2 separate regions of the Homo sapiens genome follow, and region 2 is linked to region 1. The links are contacts of gene promoters, found by promoter capture Hi-C in blood cells and fetal thymus (Javierre and others, 2016). All regions are on one chromosome and are shown on one strand. Each heading gives the region's core, a stretch centred on a gene start or on the middle of the fragment in contact. The rest is flanking DNA. Distances are from core to core; before and after follow the strand shown.

Region 1 (4,492 bases), core at 983-3,482:
CCAGCCTGGTCAACAAGAGCAAAACTCCTTCTCAAAAAAAAAAAAGAAAGAAAGAAAGAAAGAAACCTGGATTCTAGTACTAAGCTGGTCACTGTTAAGCTAAGTACTTTAATCTCTTTGATTACTTTAATCTCTTTGATTACTTTAATCTCTTTGATTTTAATCTCTTTGATTACTTTAATCTCTTTGATTCTGTAAGTCAGTATAGTAGATTGATTAAGGGCATGGGCACACTGCTTGACATAGAATAAGCACTGAAGATATGTTAGCTAGTAGTAGAACCTTACCAAGTTAGCTAATAAGAGATTGCTTTGCCAGGCACGGGGGCTCACGCCTGTAATCCCAGCACTTTGGGAGGCCAAGGCGGGTGGATCACAAGGTTAGGAGTTCGAGACCAGCCTGACCAACATGGTGAAACCCTGTCTCTACTAAAAATACAAAAATTAGCCGGTGTGGTGGTGGGCACCTGTAATCCCAGCTACTCAGGAGGCTGAGGCAGGAGAATCACTTGAAGCTGGCAGTGAGCTGAGATCACACCACTGCACTCCAGCCTGGGCAACAGAGTGAGACTCCATCTCAAAAAATAAGTAAATAAATAAATAAATAAAAAGAGATTGCTTTGAGTAGTAATTGCTCCCCCACAACCGGGAGGAAGGTAGCCCAGGTTGTCATACACTAATTGGTGGTTAAGAATTCAACAATCAGGCATTGGTGTCTTTCTAGGGGAGCATTATAAGAGGACCCCCATAACTAAGTTGGAATTGAGAAACCACCACTTGCCTGTTCTGACTGTTGGATTTCTTCTTCTTGATCTTCATTGGGTGCATTAGAGTTGTTGGGCTTGAGTTGTTGTTCTCCCTCACTCTTTTCTGTTAACCTCATTTCTTCTACAGTAAAGTGATCACCTGGGGAAATATAAAAGAAATCTTGTCGTCATGACAACAGAGGCAGTTTACCCCCAATTGCCCAGACAATAGGTGCTAGGTAAGTTGTCATGACAACAGAGGTGCCTGGGCCAGCCTCACAGAAGCAAGTGTCCAATTATGAGCAAAGCTGAAAGGCTTAACTGAGCTACATACTGGTTGCTTAACCATTAGAGACACAGAGTTCTGGTCTGTCTTCAGCTCTGACTCCATGTTTTCTGTCTAATCTGGAGGCTCTAAAGCCAGAGAGGCAAGAGCATAATGACCTCTGGGGGATGGGAAACAATGCTGTGAACCCACTCTTAAAATCCTGACTCTAGCTTGTCTGGGCCACACTAGCACAAGGAATGTTCTCTCCTCAACACACCACCTCCCACCTCAGCTGCTCCAGGGGCACCCCTACCGTATGTCCGCACTAAAAATATCTCACAAACTACCTCCTTGGTTTCATGTCCCTTGCTAAGGTTCCTTTCTGCTGAGGGCAGGGCTCCTGTCTCATCTAGTGGTTTGAATTTATCAGTCCCTACCCTTTAGTCCTTTAGTTGGTCCCTGGGCAGTACGCCCTCTAGTGGACTAATCCACAACTACATGTCCTCGAGTAGGACTCATTCTTCAAGAAACCTAAAAGCATTTCCTAACCCATACCAAGGGTTAGAAAAATATGTGTATACACCTAGCAGAAGGGCAAGAAAAAAGGACACTCCATTTTCTTTTTTCTTTTTTTTTTTTTTTTTGAGACGGAGTCTCGCTCTGTCGCCCAGGCTGTAGTGCAGTGGCGTGATCTGGGCTCACTGCAAGCTCCGCCTCCCGGGTTCACGCCATTCTCCTGCGTCAGCCTCCTGAGTAGCTGGGACTACAGGCGCCCGCCACCACGCCCGGCTAATTTTCTGTATTTTTAGTAGAGACAGGGTTTCACCGTGTTAGCCAGGATGGTCTCGATATCCTGACCTCGTGATCCGCCCGCCTCGGCCTCGCAAAGTGCTGAGATTACAGGCGTGAGCCCCCGCGCCCGGCCAGGACACTCCATTTTCTAAGCTAACTGTCCCCACCCCCTCTTTAGCTGTGTCGAACAAATCTGCCTGCAGGTACCAAGATCTTATCTTTATAGGAGTTTTGATCTTGGTGCCTTCTCAATGCCTACCTTGGAAAAAAAAAAGCAGACTGCCAACCAATCCAGAGTCCTTTCACCAGCTAAGTTGCCTGTATGGATGTCCCAGCAACAAAAAGGCTGCCATTGTTACTGTAGAGCTATTCCAGGTTGACTCTAGTCCCACCTCCTTTCCTGAACTCCTGCAACCCGCAACTGCCTGCAGCCTGTCCCCTCCTGCTCATATATATAGGCTGATCCTGAGCTCATAATGGAGTCTGTCATGACCAGTGCTCAATTATTACAAAGTTACAACAGCAGCCTGGGCCTTGCTTAGGACTCTGGGGCCTGCCTAAAAGTGGGCTGAGGCTTTTTTTAACGTGAATTATTATTATTATTAACGTGAATAAAACTGAAAATCAAACCCGTGCCATTCGTCATGTCCTTTTTTGAGTCTTCTAAAGTCACTGTTATCCCAGGACCTGTAGCAGGTATTTTGGAGGCACCAAGCAGGCTGAAAAAATTGTTGGAGAGTTCATCCATTTCTAGAACCTCTGTCCGGGCCCTACTGCTCCAGCTAGGGAAAAAGAATTCTTCAGTCTGAGAGGGCAGGGAGAAAATCCATGTGATCTCCAGGGAACCCTTAGCCAAGAGTCAGTTAGGAGTGTTCTAGGAACCAGCCAGCCATTCACATCTTTTCTTCTCAACTCTCTCCTCAACCAACAACTCCATAGCATGGTGGCCCCCTTTCATGTCACTGCCTAAAGTGGTTTACTTTTTACCCATGCAATCCTACACTGTCTTCCCGGCTAGTCCATAAGCTTCCCCAGGAAAGGGAAGCTCTTTTTCATCTCCTCAGCAGGCCTTAGCACCAGGCTCTGGACACAGCAGTCATGTAACCCAGCTCACCAACTTTTACAGGCTGATTGGAGAGGACTGTCTTTCAAACTGGACAGAGCAAAAGCTTTGCCATGATCAATAGAATAACTTGATAACTGGAAGAAATTTCAAAATACTGCCCAGTCCTCTCAAGGGCTTGGTCCCAGAACCCTGCCCACCTCTCTTCATCCTCCAGCACCCTCTTCATTCCCCATTCTCTAATCCCTTTTTTTCTAGCCCCTCTCACTTCAATACAAATCACTCTTTCCCATCTCCACACTTTACCTCCTACACTGTGCATTCCCTCCTTAGCGTGGTTTTGAGATATCTTCCCTCTCTAGCTTCTCAGTCCTTCTCCCCTATAGATAGCCAGGGGAAAAAAAGTTCTATTTTAATAGGCATGTAAGCCACAAAGTGGTATTTAAGGCTCCAATGTTCCTTTCCAGCACACACACACACACACACACACCCCACACACAAACACCCCTCAGAATTTGGCCTAAATAGAGAATACCCAAATGCAGGATGCCCCACCCCTGGATTTCAAGCCATTCATCTTTGCTCCTCCAGCTACAACAGGTGCAGTATGTTAAAGTCACAAAAAGCCAAGACCAGCTTACTCTGTTGGCCATATTTTCTCTCCTGTGTGAAATGGCTTTTTCCAGCCTGGGAAATGTGTCCAAATAACTCCCTTTAGATTTATTATGATTGGAGAAAAGGGAAAATAATTAGATCTATAGAAACAGAAATAGCAGTTGGATCCAACTTTCCCCCTCAGAGCTTTTTTGCCAACATCCTTTGCTTACATCCTCTAGCCAGGGTAGGGCTCAGGGGATCAGGGTGAGTACTGGGCAACAGGGTCATCTGAGGGACCCTGAACTGGAAATCAAAGGAGAAAACCATTTTACTTACTCCCCTCATTTTAAAATTATTGCAAAATATTTTGTTTGCCTCTGGTTCTTCACCTCGAAAATGGGTCCAGCACAACCTCCTTTGTCAGAATAGTGTAAAAATGAATTACAGAGTACATGTGAGGTGAACCAAGGCCTGTCTTTATGATGACAGGTCAGTTTCTAGTCATGTCATTATCAAGGGTTACTAGGACCTACAACACCAACATCTCATACACAAAGCCACTTTTCTTTTTTTTTTTCTTTTTCTTTTTTTTTTTTTGAGATGGAGTCTCGCTCTGTCACCCAGGCTAGAGTGCAATAGCGCAATCTCTGCTCACTGCAACCTCCGCCTCGTGGGTTCAAGCGATTCTCCTGCCTCAGCCTACTGAGTAGCTGGGATTACAGGTGCCCGCCACCACGCCTGACTAATTTTTGTATTTTTAGTAGAGAAGAGGTTTCACCATATTGGTCAGGCTGGTCTCGAACTCCTGACTTCGTGATCCGCCAGCTTCGGCCTCTCAAAGTGTTGGGATTACAGGTGTGAGCCACCGTGCCTGGCAAAGCCACTTTTCAGTGTGTTGCCATAGCTGCAGAGGTCCCACGATAAAGACCCTGTGGTGTCCCTCTAACTGAGAGAGACAGAGTGTTTAAAATCTACTTTATCCACATTTTGTATATATCTATGTCATACCTATACAATATACACATAT
Region 2 (4,492 bases), core at 1,328-3,827, 120 kb before region 1:
ATGTAAGATTGAAAAACAACACAACAGATTTCTTTACTTCAGGACTCCAAGAGACGTTAATGTTTTAATATGCAACGTGACTCTTCTGGAAGGGAAATAGTATGCAGTGTTTATACACTTATTTGAATGCTTCACGGAACCCTCTTGTACATAACAACTTGTGACTGCTGGACCAGGCTGTTCTTTTAAATTAATCACATTACAATTATGTCTTCCTGAAGCTCAGGTCAATGTATTTCAAACTGATCAGGATGAGACTTTGGGAGATCTTGTTCATTGAATGTTGAAGAGCGTATGTGTGTGTGTGTGTGTGTGTGTGTGTGTGACTCTGAAGGTAACCCTATCTCTGGTATCCAAACGCAATCTTGGTTTGGCCTTCTATCTACCGACTACACTATGATTCTATTGTGTGTGTGTGTGTGTGTGTGTAACTGTGTTATAAAAATAGAATTTTTATTGTGTGTGAAGGACACTATTTGACAGATCTCAATGATTGACCATTGGGAATAGTCCCATCTGAGAGCCACAAAACCATCCACAGCTGTTACTTTGAATCTTCGTGCTGTCCATTTTTGCTGATCCCTCACAACTAGTGTTAGTCATGTTGCTTCCATTCTAGAAAGATAATAGTAGCTGCTTTTTAAGTGGCCTCTAGAGACTCTTTTAATATAGGATTTACATGTAGGAATCTTTGGTCTAACAAAGGATTTTTCTTACCTTTAGGTGTTCCAACATTCACTAAACGTGTGGTGCTTTCAGCAGTTGTGAGATCCTGACTACAGAACGAGGTAGCTTAGAAACTAAAAGATCCTTAAAACTTGCCAGTTGGTTTGGGGGTTTCTCAGAGATTTTTAAACTGTTGGAAAATGGCATCTATGAGAAAATGAAAAAGTAGTCTAGATTGTTACACCTAAAGACGAGTTACTCTAATATGAAGGACTGTTATTTAAAGCATTTCACAAAACTATTTATTGAGGTGCAAAAAGAAAACATTGGAACATCAATATATTTATTTTTCTCATTCTTTTAAAATTTCTGTGGAGTATTTTAATGTTTACTCATTAAAATGTATGTTTAAAGTAATGTGTAATGTATACATGTACAGTAGTACATGTATATAATCTATAAATCCTTATACATATGTTGGGGCCCATGCTCAATAGTTTTTTAATAGACTAAAATGTATGCGGAAAATTTGATTTAGAGGATTGTGTGAATCTCGTCTTCATCAGAAGAGTGTTTTAGAGTGTATGTGTGGGGAACGGGGTTGGTTTAAATAGGAGCACATGAGATTCAGTTACATCAATTTATTTTATTTAAATATAACAACTATTAGTGATACAGCATTCATTCATATTCAGCAAATATTTTCTGAGCATGTCCTATGCAGCAAGCATTGCCCTAGGCTCTGTGCATACGGTGGTGAACACAAACGTTGTCCTTGACCTCATAGTCCTTCCCCACTATAGTTTAGTAGGGAAGACAGCTGTCAACCAAATAATCATACACTTAAATGTACCACCAAAAATGGGTAAGTGTTATGAAGGAAAAATACAGCAAGTTACAGGAGGCTACAAGAGTATAAACTGGGGCACCATCTCTATTCTGAGATTATCGAGAAAGGTTATCCTGAGAAGTGACATTTAAGCTGGGGCCTGCGGAGATTGATTGCACGATTGCCTTGTCAAGAGACAGAGGAAGAGTGGCCTAGATGGAAGTAGCGGGTATGTGTGAGGGCCTGGACGGGGTCATGAGATGAGTGAGGGCCTGTGCCACAAGGTCACAGGGTTTCGGGCAATGGGGAAGCTTCAGAGATGGAGCTGCCTGACAGAGAGGTGGAGTGCAGGCTAAATGACCTCAGGAGCTTTGTCCTTCTTCAATTCCAGGGGGAAAATCACAAACTAGTTGGAAGTACCAGAGGGCTACAGAAAACAACAAAAAGAGACTAGCTGGTCGGCTAGGCACAATTAAAACATCAAATTCTGCCCCAGCAGCAATTCCGGGAAATTCAAGTAATGCCCCCTGTGTGGCCCTCTAGAACTGTATCTGGTAAGAGTAAAGGGCAGTGTGTCCTCTATGCCTGCGCTACAGATGTGGACATTTTTTTTAATTGCCTGAAAATTTCATAAGCTGTAGCCAGTTAGAGGGCCTAGCAATGTGTTGTGATCATGTGTTTTCCTGAGTTATTTGAAACAAGAGGGTGTATGTACTACCCTCTTGGCAAAATTAAAGGATTTTGAGCTAGGATAAATGAGGTAGATCAGAGGATAATTGCAGGAAGTGGGGCAGTGGCTAGCCCTGCTTGAGGGCTTAGGCCCAGGCTGCAGAGGAGCTAAGTGGAAGAGCAATATTTGACGGTCTATTGCCGCTGTGCCTACTAATCGGCTAGGGGAGGAGAAGGAGGACAAGGGAGACCAGGGTTGGACGATGAGCATGAAAGAAGAGTGGGCGAGCCAGGGAGCGCTTGCCACATGGAGGGCGGGAGGCGGCTACACCGGGTCCCCACCGCCGAGAAAGGGGCACGAGGAGGCGGCGCGGGCCCCGCCCCCTCCCCTGGCGGGCGCGGGCGCGGGCTCGAGACGCTGCGCGGCGGCAGCGGCGGGCGCGAGCGGCAGCTGTCAGGCCACCGAGGTCCAAGCCGCACTTGCTGCCCCATTGAGGACGAGGAGGCAGCAGGAGCAGTGACGGTGACTCTAAGGAGCCGGATTCCCGGCACGCAGAGCTGACCTGCCTGGCACCCGCGGCCCTCTCCTGTTTCCTTCCCATTGTGTTGGGTAAGGTGCCTGTGCGTGGGCAGGAACAGGGGCTAGGGGCTGGAGGACCCGGAAGGCCGGGAGGTGGGGGGCCTGTGAGAAGAGGGAGAAAGGAAAGTCTAGTTGATCCCCAGGACCACTCGTAGCTTGAGAAAAGGGACTGAGCCGCTCCCGAGGTCGGAGTCGGGGGCAGGTGACAGTGCAGGGGGGCGTTGCTGAGTAATCCCGAGCTGCTGCCAGAGCCGAGCAGAGAGGCGCAGGGCTCCGTGGGGAGCGGGTGTGGCTCAGTGCGCATGCGCCACAGCCGACTAGCTCTAAGAGCTGGGGGTGAGGTGAGAGGACCTGGGTCGGAGGTAGTTGGGACTATGTGTGACATCTCACTTTCTAGGTCCGTAATGCTAACAGTGCCCCTGTCGTAGAGATGCCAGCATTCTTGTCTCCCAAGGAAGCTTTTTTTCCTTGTGTTCAGCTCGCTTGATGTCATCCAAACCTTATCTACCTATCTGTCCCTGGGCAGTCTACTGAGGAAGAAGTGTCCTGGGGACGATGCCAGATTGCTATCTAGTGTGCCTTTGGGCTTATAGCCCTAGAGCTGTCGTTGTGAGCAGTGAAAGGTTAGATGTGGGACTCCACATTGGACCCTTTGAGTTGCATATAGGATATAAATGTGGGCATGAATGTAGGAATAGCGTTTCAGTGGCATGACAGCTGTGGCATTTGGAGTCGGCATGGATGTAGCTGATAACTTGTTAGCTCTGCAAAATGAATCCAGTGCGTCAGAGGGTTTCCGCGCTACGAAGCACCCACCACCAGCACCAACGCCAAGTATTGGGTTGTATTGGAAACACACTCAAACATTCAATCATTTCTCATCCGTGTTGAATTTTACATAAATATAGCCGCGCCCAATTCTTCAGTGCAATATTTCCAATTATTGTGCCAGCATTCAACAGTGAGTTGAGTAGCCCTTACCAGTGTGTCGCCACAAGATGGGCTTTCCCCACAGGTCCAACCATGGCTCCTCCCCTGTACAGACTTCCAACAGTGCCACTCTCATCCAGTGCCTAGCCCTCCCCAGTTGCTCTTCCCCTATCGATCCCTGCAGTACACATCCCTTTCAAGACTTGCCTCCGAGCAATCTGCACTACTGATTTTGAGCATCATTCCACTCCATGGCAACTGAACTGATGCGAATTTGCTTTTCTGCCTCTCTTCTCTCCATCATCATACTAAAATGTACTATTTTCAAAGGTTCAACTTCTTTTTCTTCATTGTACTGCCTCCTCCCCCACCTCCACTCCCACCTCTAAGCATTCCCAACTAAATACAATAATTTGAATAAGGCTTTGTGGGTACTGCAGATTCAGAAGGTTTCAAGTGTGTTAAAGAACAAAGAGCTGGGGAGTATTGGTTATGGAAATTCCTAATTCACCTTACTCTCCAAGACTGAGACCCTGATGGGAAAAAAAAAAGTTAGTAAACTATCCTTAGAGCATGCTCATTAATGAGTTTGTGGGGGTAGGAAAGGGGAATTGCGTCTCTCGAATATTTTACTCAGTTAGAGTCAGATCTTTCTCTGAATGGGATCAAAATCAGAATAAGCGTTTTGGTCCAAATGCTCGCCCGACAGAGGACCCATAAGGGATGCATACGTCATTTGACTTTCCTATTTACGTATTTAGTGTTATCAAAGAATTCATTTGCCTGCTTAATGTTACCTTGTTTAAAGGTTTGGATTA

Evidence for each region. Contacts are between HindIII fragments. The CHiCAGO score rates a contact against its expected background, and 5 or more counts as called.
Region 2: a contact is called between the fragment with the promoter of RAB9B here and the fragment with the promoter of TMEM31 in region 1, in 1 of 17 cell types (M2 macrophages). The highest score is 6.4, in M2 macrophages.

What each region holds. Positions count from the first base shown.
Region 1 is chrX:103,708,649-103,713,140 of GRCh38, reverse strand. It overlaps TMEM31 (transmembrane protein 31), which reads right to left and starts at 2,232. Exons shown (of 3, transcript NM_182541.2): 1 at 2,065-2,232; 2 at 781-905. The coding sequence starts at 882. It also overlaps the pseudogene GLRA4. The HindIII fragment of the contact is 10,178 bases long and covers 1-2,833 here.
Region 2 is chrX:103,830,342-103,834,833 of GRCh38, reverse strand. It overlaps RAB9B (RAB9B, member RAS oncogene family), which reads left to right and starts at 2,577. Exons shown (of 3, transcript NM_016370.4): 1 at 2,577-2,774. The HindIII fragment of the contact is 1,396 bases long and covers 1,809-3,204 here.